Regions from separate parts of the Homo sapiens genome. Here regions 1, 2, 3, 4, 6 and 7 are each linked to region 5. The links are contacts of gene promoters, found by promoter capture Hi-C in blood cells and fetal thymus (Javierre and others, 2016). All regions are on one chromosome and are shown on one strand. Each heading gives the region's core, a stretch centred on a gene start or on the middle of the fragment in contact. The rest is flanking DNA. Distances are from core to core; before and after follow the strand shown. Region 1 overlaps NUP160 (nucleoporin 160). Region 2 overlaps NUP160 (nucleoporin 160). Region 3 has its middle 12 kb from the start of RAPSN. Region 4 holds the start of SLC39A13 (solute carrier family 39 member 13). Region 5 holds the start of C1QTNF4 (C1q and TNF related 4). Region 6 overlaps SPI1 (Spi-1 proto-oncogene). Region 7 overlaps FNBP4 (formin binding protein 4).

Region 1 (2,700 bases), core at 66-2,565, 240 kb after region 5:
GGTATGGGGTTTCTTTTTGAGGTGATGGAAATGTTCTAAAGTTGACTATGGTAATGGTTGCTCGTATCTGTGGATATACTAAAACTCATTGAATGGTATACTTTAAATGGGTGAGTGAATTACATCTCAAGAAAGCTGTTTAAATAAATGAATAGGCTGGGCGTGGTGGCTCACACCTGTAATCCCAGCACTTTGGGAGGCTGAGGCGGGTGGATCACCTGAGGTCAGGAGTTCGAGACCAGACTGGCCCACATGGTGAAACCCCATCTCTATTAAAAATACAAAAAATTAGCCGGGTATGGTGGCAGGTACCTGTAATCCCAGCCACTGTGGAGGCTGATGAAGGAGAATTGCTTGAACCCAGGAGGCAGAGGTTGCAGTCAGTTGAGGTCACGCTACTGCACTCCAGCCTGGGTGACAAGAGTGCCAAACTCCATCACAAAAGAAAAAAAAAAAAGAATAAAGTGAACCTGTCATTTCAGGGAAAACAAATGACAGTATTTGTTGCCAATGATACATTTCAAGTTTTAAAGTGAAAACTATGATTTCAGAAAACTTCGTATCCACTAACATGAACTCCAGAGCTTCTCAAGGCTCTTCTGAGTGATCACCAATGATAATATCATCAATGATAATAGTTGTGCAGAAAGGGTTAACATAGCAGGCCTGAGGCTGCTCTCCTTAGAAAGTCTTGCTTGTACTCTGGGAGGCCGAAGTGGGCAGATCACAAGGTCAGGAGTTCGAGACCAGCCTGGCCAATATGGTGGGCACTGTGCCTCTAGCAAGCTTTCCTGGGAAACAACATTTTACACACATCATCACAATTCAGTGCTGGAAGAATTAAGCATGTCCTGTGAGACTCTACTGGGAGGGGACTCTTAGACGATTGTGTCTGGCTTCAGACTTCACTCCATGTGCCTTTTCCCTTTTTTCACTTTGCTTTGTATCTTTTCACTGTAATACATTTTAGCTGTCAGCACAACTACATACTGAGCCCTATGAGTCCTTTCAGAGTATTACTGGACATGGAGGTGAGGTGGTCTTGGGGATTACCCCCCAAAACAGTAATTTAGATACTGCATAATATAAAATGTGTCAATCCACATCCAGCCAGTTTTAATTTCTAATAAATTATAGGTATAACCCATATAAACAAAAGCTCTTTGCAGTTCTCGGTAAGAGTATAATAGGGTCCCGAGACCAAAAGTTTGAGAACCACTATTTTAGTGTGACAAACTAATTGTAACATGTCGAGGAGACTGATCAACAGGATGTTACATGAATAACAATGGAAGGAACTAAGGAAGTTAGAGCAGGGTCAATTCTCCTACCACCCACAACCTACATGCAGAGAAGAGTATACTTAGAGGAGATGGATAGGTATGTTCAAATAGTTCAAGGGTTGTCCTCCAGAAGAGAGAATAGAACAATTATGTGCAATCAAGATAAATGTCTTGATAGCATGATACTTTTGGGCCATATTAGGAAAAAACTGCAAGAATGAGCTCTTCCTCTTCCCTTCCATTCTGTTCCTGAGCAATCCAATCTAAAAACCTAGAGCAAGGTAGATATCCTTGCTGGCCAGAAGGTAAGGGTCGGGGACCTGGGGGGTTGGGGTTCGGCATAAGGAGTCAGTCTGAACAGGTTGAAGAGAACATCGGTGCAGGCATGTCCCAGCACAGGAGTGAGAACACTAGTGAGTGAGAAGGGCGTGCATGCAGGGGTGATATGGCCAGGTGTGATGAGGCAAGAGCCTAGGGACATAAGAAGACTGTCCACATTTGGGACTGCCTGACTTCGGGGGGAGGAGCACGAACAGTTTGAGATGGCTTCCACATGGACAGAAAGCTTGGTGCAGGATGGAAACTCAGGTTGGGTGAGGAGGAGGTCCATTGCATGGGGGCAGTCTGGTGGTCTCAGGGCCCAAACAGGGTAAGGAGGGCACCCACATTGGAGGAGCAATGTGGAGTGGGCTATGAGATCCCAACAGAAGTGAGAAGGGCATCCAGGAAGGGCAGTGGCCTAGCGTGGGGACTCAGTGGGGGAATCAGAGCTCCTGCATAGTAAGGGAGACAGACCCTACCTCACTGGGCTGTTATTAGGATTAAATGGATAAAACGCATATAGCATATGAGCCCAGAGTAAGCACAATCCCAGTGTCTGCTATTATTAATGTGCATAAAGGGACTGGCACAGCACCAAACACACAATGCTCAACAAATGGCTGTTTATTAAATGATTACACTATTACATCACATCCTACGTATCTCATCTACAGACAGCAGCTACTGTCTGGATGCTAAGCAAATTTATTTAGAAAAATTAACTTAACACCACATAACACCTACATCCCTTTCAGGAATTCTGTTTTTTCACCTAGAACTCCTAATTTGCTCTTCTTGTTTAGTTTCTGTTAACTTTTCCTTTCATGTTACTTTAAACTCTCTACTTCCTTTCATACTGACCCCTCCTTCAAGATCTTCTAATTCACATAGTAGCACGAAACCCAACCATCACCTCAGAAACACATCTAGGTCGGTGAAAAGAGCTTGAACAGACTCACTGAGTCTACAGCCATTTCTCCACATCAGTACACACAGAATAACTTGGTATGTGTCTTATTTGTTTCATACCTGTCCTCGTTTTGGTGCATGCATGTATATCCCCAGGTAGAGTCCCATGGTGGGGGAATAAGCAAGC
Region 2 (2,700 bases), core at 167-2,666, 190 kb after region 5:
TTTGTACCTCTCCAGGTAAGTGGATAATAGTCGCCATGCTTCATCTGTAGCACTTGAAAAAAACAAAAATGACTAATGAGTTTCAGATTCTTAATAGCTATTTAGAGTACCATTCAAAGCATGTATTTACAAGGAAAACTTTTTTTTCAGACAGGGTCTTGCTCTGTCACCCAGGCTAGAGTGGAGTGGTGTGATCTCAGCTCACTGCAGCCTCAGCCCCAGATTCTCCCATTTCAGCTTCCTAAATAGCTGGGAATACAGGCATGCACCACTATGCCCAGCTAATTTTGTTTATGTTTTGTAGAGACAAGGACTTGCTATGTTGTCCACGCTGGTATTAAACTCCAGAGCTAAAGTGATCCTCTGACCTTGTCCTCCCTAAGTGTTGGGATTACAGGCAGGAGTCACCATGCCCAGCCTTACAAGGAAAACTTTAGAAATTAACAACTGAATCAATAATATAGCTAAATGGGAACAAATATTATTTGGGCTAATGTGACTTATGGGGATAGCACTAGAAACTAGATGTCTTGGGTTCGTATATTCCTCTCCCACTAACGTATTTAGTATTTAGTAAACAAACATATTTAGTAAATGAACGTTATTTGTTTGGCTATTAATGCATAATTCATTTAACTCCTTTGTTTCTGCATTTCTAAAACAAGAAACTGGTTCAGAACACTGGTTCTCAAACCTGATCAAGCATTAGAATCATGCAGAAGTTCTAACTTAGAAGACTAGGGTGATTTCTCATAATCTGTATTTTAATAAGTTATTCTGATGTGCTAATTTAGGGGTTGAAAACTAATGTCAGAGAACTTCCAAATTCTAAAGTGCTATCACTCTAAAGTGCTAAGCTGTATAATACCAAGTGCAAATGCAGTTCAGAAAGGGAAGTTTACTGAGGGTTAGGAATGTTAGAGAAGGTTTCTGAAGAAGCTGAAGTATATTTACGTGGACACAAAGTGGGTGCACTGGGGAAGTATACGAACCAGAGGAGATCTGAAGAAGGTATAGTGGATGATGGGGGCTGATGGGTGACAGACTGCTGAACAGCAGCTGGAGACAAGATATAAGAGGACACTGTGATGAAACCATGCAGTGACTGCTCAGTGGAAGAAATGGGGGAAAAAAGGAGGATAACACTCCGAAACAAGTAAATACAGATTTTTGCCTGTAAGAGTACCCTTTCCTGATATGAAACAGTAAGTCTTTGAGGAGGGGGATATGGAGAAGGAGACATTTCATAGGCAAAGACATCCTAGTTTGGACAATAAATGACATGATGTCACCTTAATTATAAACTTTCCAGCCCCTATAAAAACTTAGCCAAAAAGAAAGAAAAAAGTGAAATGATCTATGTAGGACAATTTAGTCAGAGAAAGACAGTTACAGCTTTTAGAAAGGCAAAACTACCCAGGGTTGAACACCAGGGTTGTACCTAGACTCCTTAGTAGTGATGACAGATGAGAGCTGATTGGCTGCTAGCCAGGCCCAGGCTTCTGCTTGTGCTGCCTCTCCTCCAAATTGCAATTTGATGCATCTGGAATGAAAATGGTTCCACACTTGAAAACTGAACGCTGAAACGTACCACTTTAATTTGATACTAAAACTAGAGAGATAGATGACAACTTCATCTCTAGTCTTTTGCTGAATTCACTACTGGAATATTGGCTCATCTCTTCCTCAAGTTACACAACTGGATACCTACAAGAACATGAGTAAGCATTAAGAGACAATTTACTTCCAAGATAAAATTAATGATGAAAAATTCTTTTTTCTTTTCTTTTTTTTTGAGATGGAGTCTTGCTCTGTCACCCAGGCTGCAGTGCAGTGGTGCAATCTCAGCTCACTGCAACCTCTGCCTCCCAGGTTCAAGTGATTCTCCTGTCTCAGCCTCCTGAGTAGCTGGGACTACAGGCCCATGCCACCATGCCTGGCTAATTTTTTGTATATTTAGTAGAGACGGGGTTTCACTGTGTTAGCCAGGATGGTCTTGATCTCCTGACCTCATGATCCGCCCGCCTAGGTCTCCCAAAGTCCTGGGATAACAGGTATGAGCCACCGCACCTGGCCTCTTTTTTTTTTTAAATTAAGATGGAGTCTCGCTCTGTTGCCCAGGCTGGAGTGCAGTGGCGCAATCTCAACTCATTGTAACCTCCGTCTCCCAGGCTCAAGCGATTCTCCTGCCTTAGCCACCCAAGTAGCTGGGATTACAGGCACACGCCACCTCTCCTGGCTAACTTTTGTATTTTTAGTAGAGATGGGGTTTCGTCATGTTGGCCGGGCAGGTCTTGAACTCCTGACCTCAAGTGATCTGCCCACCTTGGCCTCCCAACGTGATGGCATTACAGGCGTAAGCCACTGCACCTGGCTGAAAAATTCTGAAAGTTCAAAATTATTTCTAATTCACAAACTTTTTTTTTTTTTTTTTTTGAAACAGAGTCTTGCTTTGTTGCCCAGGCTCGAGTGCAGAGGCGCGATCTCAGCTCACTGCAACCTCTGCCTCCCAAGTTCAAGAGATTCTTGTGCCTAAGCCTCCTGAGAGGCTGAAATTACTGTTGTGTGCCACACCCTCATTTTTGTATTTTTAGTAGAGACAGGGTTTCACCATGTTGGCCAGGCTGGTCCCAAGCGATCCACCCGCCACAGCCTCCCAAAGTATTAGTAGGATTACAGATGTGAGCCACTGTGCCTGGC
Region 3 (2,700 bases), core at 130-2,629, 130 kb before region 5:
ATTAATAAATGGTGGCTTTGTTTTCTTAAAAGCAGAATAGGTCGGGCGTGGTAGCTCACGCCTGTAATCCCAGCACTTTGGGAGGCTGAGGTGGGCGGATCACCTGAGGTCAGGAGTTCGAGACCAGCCTGGCCAACATGGTAAAACCCCGTCTCTACTAAAAATAGAAAAATTAGTCAGGTGTGATGCCAGGTGCCTGTAGTCCCAGCTACTCGGGAGGCTGAGGCGGGAGAACTGCTTGAACCCAGAGGGCAGAGGCTGCAGTGAGCCGAGATCCTGCCACTGCACTCCAGCCTGGGCAACAGTGAGACTCCATCTCAAAAACAAACAAGCAAACAAACAAAAACAGCAAACTGTCTAGAACAGTCCTGCCACTGCCTGTGATGATGGAAATGTTTTGTATCGGCACTGTCCAATAGGATAGCCACCAGTCACTTGAAATGTGGCTAGTGAAACCGAGGTACTACATTTTTGTTATTTTAAGAGGGAGTTTCGCTCTTGTTGCCCAGGCTGGAGTGCAATGGCATGATCTCAGCTTACCACAACCTTCACTTCCCGGGTTCAAGCAATTCTCCTGCCTCAGCCTCCCGAGTGGCTGAGATTACAGGCATGCACCACCACGCGGGGCTAATTTTGTATCTTTAGTAGAGACGGGGTTTCTCCATGTCGGTCAGGCTGGTCTCAAACTCCCAACCTCAAGTGATCCGCCTGCCTCGTCCTCCCAAAGCGCTGGGATTACAGGCATGGAGAGGTAAGGTGAGCCACTGGCTGGGCCCATATTTAGTTATTTAAACAAAAAAAGCTACAGTGCCTAGTGGGTAACTGTATTGGACAACTGTGAGTCTAGAAGCCTTCCAGATTCAGGCTGAGGCAGATAATATCGGCAACCAGAAAGAGGAGCTGGGAGAGCTGCAGAAACAAGGCTGGATTGGGAGCAGACAAGCTCAGAAGGATGAGGGATGGCAGGAGCAGGTGCCACAAGGCAGTGGGTGCTGCCACTAGCTTTCAAGTAGGAGGAAGAAAGGAGAAAATACCTCAGGATGTTGACTAAGTGAAGGCCAGACACAAAAGGCCACATATCCCATGACTGTATTTTAATGAAATGTCCAGAACCAGTAAAGATACAGACAGAGGTATATTTGTGGTTACTAGGAAATGGGAAAGGGAGTGAGGGAGAGGATGGGGAGTGACTGCTAAATGAGTACAGGGTTCTGAAAATGTTCTAAAATTAGGCTGCATTCATGGTTGCACAACTCTGAAACTCAGTGAATGGTATGCTTTAAGTGGATGAGTTGTGTTGTGTGTGAATTATATCTCAATAAACCTGTTTATTATTTTTTTCTTGAGACAGGGTCTCGGTCTCACTTTGTTCCCTGGGCTGGGACAGTGGCACAATCTCTGCTCACTGCAACCTCCGCCTCCTGGGTTCAAGCAATTCTTGTGCCTCAGCCTCCTGAGTAGCTGGGATTACAGCCATGCGCCACCATGCCTGGTTTATTTTTAGTAGAGAAGGGGTTTCGCTATATTGGCCAGGCTGGTCTTGAACTCCTGGCCTCAAGTGGTCCACCGACCTTGGTCTTTCAAGGTGCTGGAATTACAGGCATGAGCCACCACGTCATGCAATAAAGCCGTTTAAATACAACCCAAATCTCAAGAGGACTCAGATTAGTAAGACCCATCCCCACTAATGGAAAAACCTTGGGTAGAGCAGGCCAAGACCTGGGCCTGGAAAGTGTCGGGGACTGCGGGAAAGCCCTTCCTGGTTGTGTGAGTTCAATTTCCCATCCCAAGGCTGCCTTCAATTTATTTTTGAGATGGGAGTCTCACTCTGTCGCCCAGACTGAAATGCAGCGGAATGATCTTGGCTCACTGCAACCTCCGCCCGCCGGGTTCGAGATTCTCCTGCCGCAGCCTCCCGAGTGGCTGGGATTACAGGTGCCCGCCACTATGCCCAGCTAATTTTTGTATTTTTGGTAGAGACAGGGTTTCACCATGCTAGCACTGCTGGTCTTCAACTCCTGAACTCAACTGATCTGCCTGCCTTGCCCTCCCTAAGTGTTGGGATTACAGGAGTGAGCCACCGCGCCCGACCTGCCTTGAATTTTTAAAAAACAAAAGCCTTCCCTATAGCTGGAGCCTTCAACCAGTACAGAGAAAGTCAATGCATGCAAAAGCAATTAAACACCAGATGGTGGGGGTTGGAAAGGACTCCTGAGAAGGAAGGAAAATGCTTGAAGGCACAAGGTGCAAGGCAAGTCCAGCTCCGATCTCTCCTGAAGGGAAATATTATCAAACATTAGTCTGACATTCCCTGAGGTGCAGGCACAACCTGGTGTTTAATTTCCAGCCTGGTGGCTTTTTCCTCATCAGGGACCGAGCTGCTCAGGTGAGCATAGTATGTGAGCATTAGGGAAGCTGTGTGCTGACCGAGAAAGTCAGTGCGGAGGTGCCTCTGCCAGCCAGATGAACAGGAATGTGGCAAAAAGTAGGTGTTGAGCAAGCTACAGAAGGATGAAGAGGTTTTCAAAGAATACAAAACATTGGCCGGGCGAGGTGGCTCATGTCTGTAATCCCAGCACTTTGGGAGGCCAAGGTGGGTGATCAACTTGAGGCCAGGAGTTTGAGACCAGCCTGGCTAACATGGTGAAACCCTGTCTCTACTAAAAATACAAAAAATTAGTCGAATGTGGTGGCACATGC
Region 4 (2,700 bases), core at 181-2,680, 190 kb before region 5:
AGGGGGGCATTTTAGAAGTCCTAGGGCAGGATCCCTGAGTAGCTTTTCTTTGCCAAGAAACTAACCCAGGGATTCCATTTTGGAACTCAGGGAGGGAACAGAACGTCCTGGCAGTTGTATGGGCCCGGTGGGGTGAGATGGACAGAAAGCTTCAGAAGACAAGCTGGGCCACCAGGGAGAAGTTGGCGGTCTAAGGAAGGCCAACAGTGCAACATGAAGTGGGACAGGCACCAGAGGCAGCCCTGAGAGCTGAGTGTGCTCTCAAGAGCCCCAGCAGAGGGGAAAGTGACAGAGTAAATGGTTGGAGCTGCCATGGGAGGCTGATGAGGGTCAGAGACTTAAGAGACCTGTACTCAGTCGCTATCTCTGCCCAAGTGAGTACCCACATGCCCCTTCCTGAATCTTCTCCTGTACTGGCTGATTTCCAGAGAAGAATACAAACTCGAAACGCCAAGCCAGACTCCCACTGCTGTTCAGGACCTAGACGTGAGAAGTGGTATCACATACTCTGGCTTCAGGACACCCAGGTTTGAATCCTGGCTCTGCCATCTGTGCCACTGTGTGACCCTGGGCTAACAGTACCCACCACAATGGGATAATATGAGGATTCAGTGAGATAGTGCGAGTAAAGTGAATAGCACATAGTAGGTGGTCAGTAAATTGCGGTTATAAGAACTGCTATCCAGTGTTTGCTGCCTTAGTCTAACCAAAGAGGTCAGGTCTAGCTTCCTCCAGGTGAGGGAAGCACAGAGCCCTCGCCTCCCAGGTTTGGAGTTCCCATCAGCAGGGTCCAGCCACCATGCATTGGACCCCAAAGGGTTACAAGCCCTGGAGACAGTGGCCTGAGGTTCCCAGTGAAAAACCAAAGCATAAAAATAATTCGATGAGTAAGAATAAAATTCCCTCTTCTGAGGTTCCCGGGGCCAGGCCCCTCCCTGCGGCAGGCACTTCCCCTTTCCCTTGCTCATGGAGGAGCCAGGCCGGGCTGACTCAGAGCAGGAGCGCACAGTAGTCCTCCCAGCCCGACCTGGGCGGCGTGGTCTGGCGGCCGGGCGCGCCCCCGTGCGGCCACGGGCAGACTGCGGCCCTGGACGGGAAGCGGCGGCCAGATCCGCAAGCCCCGCAGCCTGGTCGATCGCGGTCCCCGCAGAGCCGCCGCTTCCGTCCCTGCCCAGCCTGGCTGAGCGCGGTGCGTGTGGCTCTCTCACTTCCGACCGACCCTCCCCTCCGGCCCGCAGCCCTGCCCAAACGGAAGTGCGCCCTCTACCCGGGTCCCCCACCGCCGCGAGGCGGAAGCGCCCTCCCGCCGCCACTCCCCCCGACCCCGCGGCACGCGGCGCCTCGGGTTCCGGACAGGCCCCTTGTGACGTGGCCGCGCGCCGGGGGCGGCCCCGGGCCGGGGGCCGGGCGGCCGGGCGGCCGGGCGGGGCAGAGCCTGGGCGGGGCGCGGCACCGCAGCTGGATGGCTGGGGCCGCCCGGATCGCCGCCGCCGCCGCCGCACGGTGAGTGCCAGCAGGACCCTCGGGGCCCGCGCCCCGGGCGTGATGGACCCGGCCGATCCCTCGCCCCGTCCGACTGGTCCTCATCAGACCTGGGCCGGCTCCCAGGACCCGGGAGTCAGGCTCGCCCGCTTCGGCCTCCTCTCCCCCATCGCTCCGCGCCCCACGCCCCATCCCTCCCTCGCTGTCCTCTCCGCGTCCCACCCGCCTCTCTCTAGCTCTCTCACTCTCTACTTTCCTCTCCCCTTGGACTCTCCGTGTATTCCCTCCCGCTAGCCTGTGGTCCCCTCACCTCTGCGTGACCGCCTCGTCCTGGCCCAGTCTTGCCTGTGGTCCCCAGTGGAGCCCCGCTGGCTTCATCAGTGCCCCTGATTAGTTAAGGCCTGGAGGTCCTAGACATGGGCATCTCTGCCACCACCCAGAGGCAGCTGCTTTCTTCCCCTCCCATCTCCATCAGAAGGTGAGGAAACTGAGGCAGGGACATCACCAGCTCAAGGTCACAGCCAGCCTGAGGCAGAGCAGACCACATTTAAACCTCATGCCCGAGTTTCCAGATGGAACTTCTCGCTTGGTTGACTCACGTCCACATCCTGTGATCGGCCGGCTGGGCACATTCCTGCTGCAGGGAGCCCCAGGCCTTCCCTGGCACAGGCAGGGCCTCTGCGCCTCCTCATGCCGGGTACATCCACCTGCACTTTCAGGCTTATCTCGTCCTCACAGCTGAGGCAGGTGATATTGATCCCTGTCCTGCAGATGAGGGCACTGAGGCTCAGAGGGGGGGCTTCAGAGATTTGCCCAGAGTTAGACAGCTCAAAGTGCAGCATAGAATTCACCGTGGGGGCTCTAAAGCCTGCGCTATACAAGAGAGAGGCATCCCCTGGCTAAAGGCTCCTTCCTCATCAGCCCCATCTCCTGTTGCCCTCAGTGCCCTGGGGACATTGGTCTCATGTCCTAGGAAGAAGCGTGGATGGTCTTGCCCTGGCTCATCTGCTCAGTTTCCCCACGTATGTCTCTCTGAATCCACCCCATCCCCTTAGAAGGGGTGCCTCAGTCTCTGGGGTGTCGCGGGCGGCAGGGCCTCCCCTGGCAGCCAGAGACACCCAGCTGGGCCGGGCCGTGCCGCCGGTGGCTGAGGAGAGCCAGCCAGCGCCTCACCCTGTCATTAGGGAAAGTTTAGCCTCAGGCGGAGGTGCTGACACA
Region 5 (2,700 bases), core at 201-2,700:
GTTAGGTGTCCCTTGGTTAGGACAGGGAGGAGGGAAGGGGCCATCCACAGTGGTGAAGATGGCACCTCACAAGTGTCCAGTGCATTCCCTTTTACAAAGTTCTTTTAGACACATGGTCTTGGCAAACCTACAAGACAGGTGGGCCGTCTCCCATTTTATAGATGAGAAAGCTGAGGCCCAACAAGGGAAAGCATTTTGGCCCAAGGTCACCCATGGAGCACTGAGGTTTTTTGACTCAAATTCCGTATGCCTTCCTGTCACTCTTCCCTCCTAGACACAGGTATGTCCAGCCAATTTGTTCTGTGCCTCAGTTTACCTTTTTGCAAAACTAGGAGAGGAGATCAGAGGAATGAGTCTTGGGATCCAGGGTGAGGAAGACAGAAAGCAAAACCAAACAAAAGCAAGCAAACACATTCTCTAGTGTTTTGTCTTCTGGGAACACGGAAAACAGCTCAGCTTTTCCATACCGCTGCTTTCCTAGTGGGTCCTGCCCCAGAAGCAGCTGCCCAGCAACCTCCTGACCAAGGCTGGTGCACCCCACCAGTGCCAAGGGTCTTCCTGTGCACCCAGTACCCAGCCTCCGTTTCACCCACACTGCCCAATTCCCAGATCCCTGGATCCTCGTCCTTCCCTGAACCCCCTTCCCTGAGCAGGTCAGAGGTGTGGGAGGGTGTGTCAGGTGGGTGTCATAGCTCCAGGGAAGGAAATGGCTGTTCCTGGCTCTGTCCAGGTGGGGTTCAAAATAGTCATCTTCAAAGAGAAAAACTGGGACACAGAGCTGGAGAGACCCAGAGCCCCGGAGCCAAGGCGGGAGGTGCAGCGATGTCAGGCTGAGGGGATCGCAGAGTTCCCCCTTGCCCTGCCACTCACCAGTTAACCCTTCCCTCAAGCCCTGCCAGAGCCCCCTCCCCAACCTACCTTGAAAGCCCCTCATCCTTCCAAGAAGTCCCACTTTCACAGAAGCCAATTAATCCTTATTTTTAAAAAACAAAAACCAATCCCTCTCCCCCGAGACCTTCCCTCCATCCATCCATCCCTTTGGAATGAAAGCCCTTGTGCCTGTTTCACGAAAAGGCTCCCAGGTCCTCCTTTCAAGGAAAAAGGACCCAATTTCCCCGCGCCTCCCCAGCCCTCGCTTCCAGTAAAGGGGGAACCTCGGCTCCCTGCCTCCCCTCAGCTGCCCTCACCTGGCTGGGGGCGGCGGTCGAGTCGGGTTCGGTCTGAGCCCGCGATCTGGCTCCGGGCTGCGGGCTGCGGGCTGCAGGCTGCAGGCTGCGGGTGCCGGGCTGCGCGCTGACCGCCCGCGCTGCGGCAGGGGCGGCGGGGGCTCCGGCTGCTTTTCCCGGCTCTGAGGCGGCAGCGGACAGGGTGCTGGGGCCAGGGGCCGGGCGTGGGGAGGCGTGAGGGAAAGGGAAGGTCAGCTAGAGAGGGAGCCGAGCGAGAGCGAAGAGGCGGGGGAGAGACGGGAGGGGGAGAGGAGGGGAGTAGGGGAGAGGGAGGGGCGAGCTGCGGGGCCTAGGGGCTCCGCACGGAGTCTGCGCCGAGCACTGGACCCTTCCTCATCTGTGACCTCCTTAGAGCTTCGTCCTCTGGGTCTAGAGAGCAGGCATCATTAATCTGAGCAGTTGGGGAAACTGAGGCCAGAGGCAGCAGCTAACGCGGGGTGGCCCAGAGCGCTCTACAGTCCAGCTTCCTTCCTAGTGTGGGGAGAGAGGGCTAGAGCTGGACTCAGAGGCTGGACTAGCCTTTGGGCTGCAAGGACAGTGGAAGGTGAGATTTTGGCTGGGACAGATGTCCAAGCTAAGTGGCCTTGGGGGAGAGGTCTGAAGGAAGAGAAGGATAAATGGGTCAATGTTGCCAGTAAAGGAAGAGCTGAAAATAACCTAGTTTTTCCTCCTCACCTCCAAATTGGAAAATGCCCACGGTCGGTTAGGAAAGAGGGAGAAGGGAGTCTGCAGGCATCAGAGGGGCAGCCTGCGTTCCCCGGGGTGAGGGGCAGTAAGGAGGAGAGTCCTTGGGGCAGAATGGAATTTTCTGCTGGGAAGGTTGCTCCTGCAAGAAGGGACAGGATTGAGAGGGCAATAGGTGGGGAAGAAAGGCCTCTGGAGAGGGAAACTGATGCCCTGCCTCGCTGGGGCCAGGCTAGCAAGAGTCCAGCAGGGCACCCGGGCTGGGAACAGCGGTCTTCCCATGGTAATACTCACCAGAGGCACTAGTGCTGGCCTCTACTCTGGGCTTCGAGCCCGTGGGATGGGGGCTCAGACTCCCTTTCTCTAGGCTGCTGTTCTCTCCCCTGACGGCTGTAGAGGTGACGACACTGCCTGGCACTCAGTAGATGCTGACTGAGTGGATGACTTTTGAAGAGCTCTACTTTCAGCAGCCAAGAGCTGGTGCCCTCTGCCTGGCCCTGGTTGACTCCAGAGCCATGGGCTCTAATTCTGCCTCTGCTGCAGGTCTGCTCTGTGGTCCCTGAGAGGCCTGGACCCCTGCAGAACCCCCGTCCTCTGGAGCTTTCCTTTTGGAGCTCTCAAAGTTTACCCCACCCCAGTTAATCTATTTGTCTCTAGGAAGATGTTGGTAGAGGTGATTGGCTCTGCTTCAAGGGTGTTAGGTGAATGATGGAATGAATTAACGAATATGTGCCAGAATAGAAAGGAATGAATGGAGGTGTTTTGGGCTGGATAATGAGGGTATTTGGTG
Region 6 (2,700 bases), core at 103-2,602, 220 kb before region 5:
TAGTAGAGATGGGGTTTCACCATGTTGGCCAGGATAGCCTCTATCTCTTGACCTCGTGATCCACCCACCTCAGCCACCCAAAATGCTGAAATTACAGGCATGAGCCACCACGCCCCAGCCTATTTAATTCCTTATGTCCCCATCCCCTCGCTGGAGAGTGAGCTCTGTGAGAGCAGTGGCCTTGTCTGGTGCTCATCATGGACTCCCCAGAGCCTACAAGAGTGTCTGATACTCAGAAACTATTTAATGGATGGAATAGGGAGGAAAAGTGGATCAGATGGGAAGCGGCTGGCAGGATGGACGAGTAGGTGGGTGGATGGGAGGGTGAGTGCATGGATGTGGGGGTGGGTGGCAGATTGACTGTCCCCTGGGTCAGTGGAAAATAACCCAGTTGGTCTCTCACAGAGCCCTCTGTGCTTTTCCCACTCCCCAGCCGCTTTGTCCCTCCTGCCTTGAGGAATGCAGTGAAGCTAGCACGGGCCTCGTCCTCTGCACGTTACCTTACCTCAGAGATTATATGCCTTACCTCGCTGAATCATCACAGCCCTAGGAGGTAAGTATTTTCATGCTGTCAGTTTTATAAATGGGGAAATAGGGACTCAGAAAGGTTATGTTACTTGCCCCAAGTTTTCACAGCTGGTAAGTGATGGAGCCAGGGCTGGGCCAAAGCTTTTTCACTAAGCTTCAGTACCTAAAAATGTGGACAAAGAGGACGTGCAGGAATTGACAGAAGTGTGTGGGGGTCTCTATGGTTGAGTCTTCAGACGATACCTTCCAGCGGGTATAAAAAGGGACAGCCCGGCCGGGCGCAGTGGCTCACGCCTGTAATCCCAGCACTTTGGGAGGCTGAGGCAGGCGGATCACCAGGTCAGGAGTTCGAGACCAGCCTGGCCAACATAGTGAAACCCTGTCTCTACTAAAAATACAAAAAATTAGCTGAGCGTGGTGGCAGGCGCCTGTAATCCTAGCTACTTGGGAGGCTGAGGCAGGAGAATCGCTTGAATCCGGGAGGCGGAGGTTGCAGTGAGCCAAGATTGTGCCACTGCACACCAGCCCGGGCGACAGTACGAGACTCCGTATCAAAAAAAAGGGACAGACTGGGCGCGGTGGTTCACACCTGTAATCCCAGCACTTTGGGAGGCCGAGGCAAGTGGATCACTTGAGGTCAGGAGTTTGAGAGCAGCCTGGCCAACATGGTAAAACCTCATCTCTACTAAAAATACAAAAATTAGCCAGGCATGGTAGTGCACGATTGTAATCCTAGCTACTTGGGATGTTGAGGCAAGAGAATCGCTTGGACCCAGGAGGCGGAGGTTGCAGTGAGCCAAGATTGGGCCACTGCGCTCTAGCCTGGGCAACAGAGCAAGACTGTCCTAAAAAAAAAAAAAAAAGAAAAGGACAGCCCAAATGCCCTGATTGGCAGTGATTAAGAGTGGGACAGAGCCAAGGCCGAGGACACCTGGGAACACTGGTGGAGTCTCTGGAGGAACTAGGGGTTCATGACCAACATGGGGTGCCCAGGCATCCAATCAGGAGTCATTCCTAGAGTCCCACCTGAGATATAAGGAACCTGCTTGGACCCTGAGCCACGAAAACACATGCTTTCTCTAAAGTGCTCACTCCATCAGGCCCAGCCCCAGGCTCACTGGTTTCCAGCTATGTGGGCAGCGCCCTCATATTACAGGAAGGAAAACTGAGGCTGCAAAAGGCCCAAAGGAAACGCACCCAAGCCCAGTGAACTGAAGAGGGATTGGGCCAGGGAGAATGCGTCCTTGTTGGAGGAGGCCTGACAGCACTGTCTGTGGTGACCCGAGCCACCAGGGGGCGCCTGTCCCAGGGCCCAGCGGGACCTCCTGGAGTCCTGGAACCGCTTGGGAAGGTGGGTGCGTGGTCTCTGGGTCCCCCAGACCGGGCTCTTCACTCTGGTAGGGAGAGCTGGGGATGGAGTTGGGGGAGGGGGACTTTCTCTCTACATTGCCTGGGTTTCCCACCAAGAGGATGTGTTTTTTACATAATTACAAATAAGCTTGAAGGAATTAAAAAGGATATTTTAAAGGCTTTCTAGCCCTGAAAGATTCTAAAAGATGCCTGTGCGTTCCCAGCTGTGGCCTGGAGGCATATCCGCCTACCCCTGGGATATGGCTTCCAGTCTGAGTTCCGGATGAATCTGGGGCCCTAAATGTGGACCAGGCACATGTGGATCCCTAGCTGGGCCCATCAGGTTTAGACCGCCACAGGTGCATCTGCAGAATGGAGCTACAGGCATGACTGGCCGCAGGGGTGGCCTTCAGGAGTGACACCTTCCTAGGCTGTGGGCCTCTGCCCTCTGAGGTGCAGACACCCCAGTCGCTGGTCTGCCCGGGTCCCAGACGCCCTGAGGAATTCCCCAGTGACGACTCACCCACTGACTAGGCCACCTCGCTTTGGGTCAGGGATGTCTACATCAATAAGCCAAGATCCACTTTGGGCAACCTCCCGCAGCCCCCTGCTCAGGTCCCAGGCACCTAATGCCTCTCTCCCATCCCCTGAATTTGCTCCAGGACGGAGGCTGGGCTATGGGGCAGACAGTCAGACCCAGAAGGACTGGACAGACAGAAGGACACCCTGGCCCAGGCCTCTTCCTCCCACTTCAGCAAACTGGGGGCCTCGGCCTCTGCTGAACAAGAGGTTCTCATAGGTTTTCCTTCGGCCCAGCAGTTC
Region 7 (2,700 bases), core at 114-2,613, 160 kb after region 5:
CTGTCTCAAAAAAAACAAAAAACAAAAAAAAAAGAATACAATTATTATCGGGCGTGGTGGCACATGCCTGTAATCCCAGCTACTCAAGAGGCTGAGGTGGGAGAATTACTTGAACCTGGGTGGCAGAGGTTGCAGTGGGCCAACATCACGCCACCACATTTCAGCCTGGGTGACAGTAAGACCCAGTCTCGAGGGAGAAAAAAAAAATTCTAGATACTCATTCTAAGCTTCTCAAATCAAAACCCTCATCTTCCAATTATACAAGCTCCCCAGTCTCTTCTAATTTGCCTTTCTTCTCTTTGAAAGCTTTACAAAAAGAAAAGGGAGGTGGTGGCTCACGCTTGTAATCCCAACACTTTGGAAGGCCGAGGTGGGTTGATCACCTGAGGTCAGGAGTTTGAGACCAGCCTGGCCAACATGGTGAAACCCCGTCTCTACCAAAAATACAAAAATCAGCTGGGTGTGGTGGCACATACCTGTAGCCCCAGCTACTCGGGTGCACATACCTGTAGCCTCAGCTACTTGAACCCAGGAGACAGGTTGCGGTGAGGCGAGATCGTACCGCTGCACTCGAGACTGGGCAACAGAGTGAGATTCTATCTCAAGAAAAAAAAAAAAAAGGAGAGACAGCCAGGTGTGATGGCTCACACCTATAATCCCAGCACTTTGGAAGGCCGAGGTGGGAGGATCGCTTCAGCCCAAGAGTTCAAGACCAGCCTGAGCAACACAGTGAGACCCCATCTCTTAAAGTTAAACAAAACAAAACAAAAAGAGAGATAGAGATCGGGAGAAATACAAGAGAGTGTTGGAGGGAGAGGGAGAAAGGAGGAGGAAGACATTGAACTGACAAGTACGCTGACCACTTAAGATCCAGGTCCCAAAGTAGCTTCAGTAACTAAAACTCCAAACGAAAGCACCACTAACCGCTAGGAAGTTGGCCAATGTACTATCAATATCAGTTGACTGGTTTCCATTTGTCTCTTTGGATTGTGCTAGTTTTTCGGAAACATCATTGTCATCGTCATCACTGTCAGCATAAGCACCAAGCAAGCATAGACCGCCTAGAAACAAAAAGGTAAACAGTATTTGTAACAACAATGTCAATATGTCCTAAGAAGCATCTAAAGCGGAAGTATAACATGTTTTTTTTAAACTTACTTACAGATTAGAACATAACCGCAAAACTAATAATCACTGAACTACCACAGAAGAATAAATTACATCGTATGGTTAAAGCTAATAAAAATTGATCTATAGGCCTGGTGCAGTGGCTCAACGCCTGTAATCCCAGCACTTTGGGAGGCCGAGGTGGGTGGATCATGAGGTCAGGCGTTTTGAGACCAGCCTGGGCAACATGGTGAAACCCCATCTCTATTAAAAATACAAAAAATTAGCCAGGCCTGGTAGCACGTGCCTGTAGTCCCAGCTAGTGAGGCAGGAGAAGTGCTTGAACCTGGGAGGCAGAGGTTGCAGTGAGCCAAGATCACGCCACTGCACTCCACCCTGGGCAAAAGAGTAAGACTCTGTCTCCGGGGGTTAAAAAAAAAAAAAAAAAATTGATCTGGGCTGGGCATGGTGGCTCACACCTGTAATCCCAGCACTTTGGGAGGCTGAGGCGGGCAGATCACCTGAAGTCAGGAGTTCAAGACCAGCCTGACCAACATGGAGAAACCCTGTCTCTACTAAAAATACAAAATTATCCAGGTGTGGTGGCACATGCCTGTAATCCCAGCTACTCAGGAGGCTGAAGCAGAAAAATTGCTTGAACTCGGGAGGCGGAGGTTGCGGTGAGCTGAGATCACGCCACTGCACTCCAGCCTGGGCAACAACAGTGAAAATCCGTCTCAAAATAAATAAATAAATAAAATAAAAAATAAAAAAACATGTTGATCTATGAGCCAGGCAACACAGCTTATGTCTACAGACCCAACTTCTTCGGGAGGATCTGAGGCAGGAAGATCATTTGAGCCCAGAATCTGAGACCAGCCTCGAAAACATAGTGAGACCTTGTCTATCCCATAAAAACAAAAACAAAAAAAAAAAAAAGGGAAAAGGAAAAAGAATAAAAATTTAGCCGAGCATACGGCTGAGGTGCAAGGATAGCTTGAGCCCAGGAGGTTGAGGCTGCATTAAGCCGAAACATCTCCACTGTACTCCAGCCAGGGTGACAAAGTGAGACTGACCATGTCTCCAAAAAAAAAACAAAAACAAAAAAAATCGAGAACAAGAAAATTAATCTGCATAGTTATTTCAATCAATTATTCAATCTCACTCTCTTTCCAAATTGTTCATAGATAGTATATCTTGATTTTAGAATTTGGTGATTAAAGTGTTTACTTCAAACTGAGCCAATTACAGTGTAGCAGCTGAAACAAAGACTTTCAAAAACTAAAGAAATAAAGACTTTCAAAGTTAAAAACGAAGCTTTTAATCAATGATTATTCCTCAAATAGGAAGTGACAGAAATTAAAAACATGAAGTGACAGGAATTAAAAATGGGGCTCAACATGGCTAAAACCAATGATCAATGTCTTCCTCAAATTTAAGTGGTATCAGGTATGGCCTCTGTAATGCTGCTATGCCATTTCCTTTTGGATCATCTGTGGCTACTCCAAGATTACAATTAACAATATAATACATAGAGTATTATTATATGTATTATAAACACATAAAATGTTAAATTCTAGCTAGACTTTTCCA

The links. The method cuts DNA at HindIII sites, captures the fragments that hold promoters and counts their contacts. A CHiCAGO score of 5 or more calls a contact.
Region 1: a contact is called between a fragment that was not itself captured here and the fragment with the promoter of C1QTNF4 in region 5, in 1 of 17 cell types (endothelial precursors). The highest score is 5.6, in endothelial precursors.
Region 2: a contact is called between a fragment that was not itself captured here and the fragment with the promoter of C1QTNF4 in region 5, in 2 of 17 cell types (M1 macrophages and megakaryocytes). The highest score is 7.5, in M1 macrophages.
Region 3: a contact is called between a fragment that was not itself captured here and the fragment with the promoter of C1QTNF4 in region 5, in 2 of 17 cell types (M2 macrophages and M1 macrophages). The highest score is 7.2, in M2 macrophages.
Region 4: the fragment with the promoter of SLC39A13 here is called in contact with the fragment with the promoter of C1QTNF4 in region 5 in 5 of 17 cell types (M1 macrophages, endothelial precursors, erythroblasts and 2 more); the score reaches 8.6 in M1 macrophages.
Region 6: a contact is called between a fragment that was not itself captured here and the fragment with the promoter of C1QTNF4 in region 5, in 1 of 17 cell types (endothelial precursors). The highest score is 6.7, in endothelial precursors.
Region 7: a fragment that was not itself captured here is called in contact with the fragment with the promoter of C1QTNF4 in region 5 in 2 of 17 cell types (M1 macrophages and erythroblasts); the score reaches 6.6 in M1 macrophages.

What each region holds. Positions count from the first base shown.
Region 1 is chr11:47,833,018-47,835,717 of GRCh38, forward strand. It overlaps NUP160 (nucleoporin 160), which reads right to left. Exons shown (of 36, transcript NM_015231.3): 7 at 2,634-2,700. Among named protein-coding and RNA genes, the nearest start is that of NUP160, 14 kb to the right of the region's middle. The HindIII fragment of the contact is 1,062 bases long and covers 785-1,846 here.
Region 2 is chr11:47,785,012-47,787,711 of GRCh38, forward strand. NUP160 (nucleoporin 160) reads right to left here. Exons shown (of 36, transcript NM_015231.3): 32 at 1,442-1,543; 33 at 1-52. Among named protein-coding and RNA genes, the nearest start is that of FNBP4, 19 kb to the left of the region's middle. The HindIII fragment of the contact is 3,579 bases long and covers 1-2,700 here.
Region 3 is chr11:47,459,826-47,462,525 of GRCh38, forward strand. No RefSeq gene overlaps it. Among named protein-coding and RNA genes, the nearest start is that of RAPSN, 12 kb to the left of the region's middle. The HindIII fragment of the contact is 8,567 bases long and covers 1-2,700 here.
Region 4 is chr11:47,407,160-47,409,859 of GRCh38, forward strand. It overlaps SLC39A13 (solute carrier family 39 member 13), which reads left to right and starts at 1,431. Exons shown (of 10, transcript NM_001128225.3): 1 at 1,431-1,503. SLC39A13-AS1 (SLC39A13 antisense RNA 1) reads right to left here and starts at 2,123. Exons shown (of 4, transcript NR_182308.1): 1 at 1,793-2,123. RefSeq lists enhancers at 713-1,535, 1,824-2,690, 2,691-2,700 and a silencer at 944-1,733. The HindIII fragment of the contact is 27,134 bases long and covers 148-2,700 here.
Region 5 is chr11:47,592,961-47,595,660 of GRCh38, forward strand. C1QTNF4 (C1q and TNF related 4) reads right to left here and starts at 1,451. Exons shown (of 2, transcript NM_031909.3): 1 at 1,188-1,451. The HindIII fragment of the contact is 4,016 bases long and covers 1-2,700 here.
Region 6 is chr11:47,372,271-47,374,970 of GRCh38, forward strand. All of the region lies in intron 2 of SPI1 (Spi-1 proto-oncogene), which reads right to left. Among named protein-coding and RNA genes, the nearest start is that of SPI1, 4.9 kb to the right of the region's middle. RefSeq lists an enhancer at 1,896-2,397. The HindIII fragment of the contact is 1,344 bases long and covers 681-2,024 here.
Region 7 is chr11:47,753,604-47,756,303 of GRCh38, forward strand. It overlaps FNBP4 (formin binding protein 4), which reads right to left. Exons shown (of 17, transcript NM_015308.5): 3 at 925-1,061. Among named protein-coding and RNA genes, the nearest start is that of FNBP4, 12 kb to the right of the region's middle. The HindIII fragment of the contact is 2,118 bases long and covers 305-2,422 here.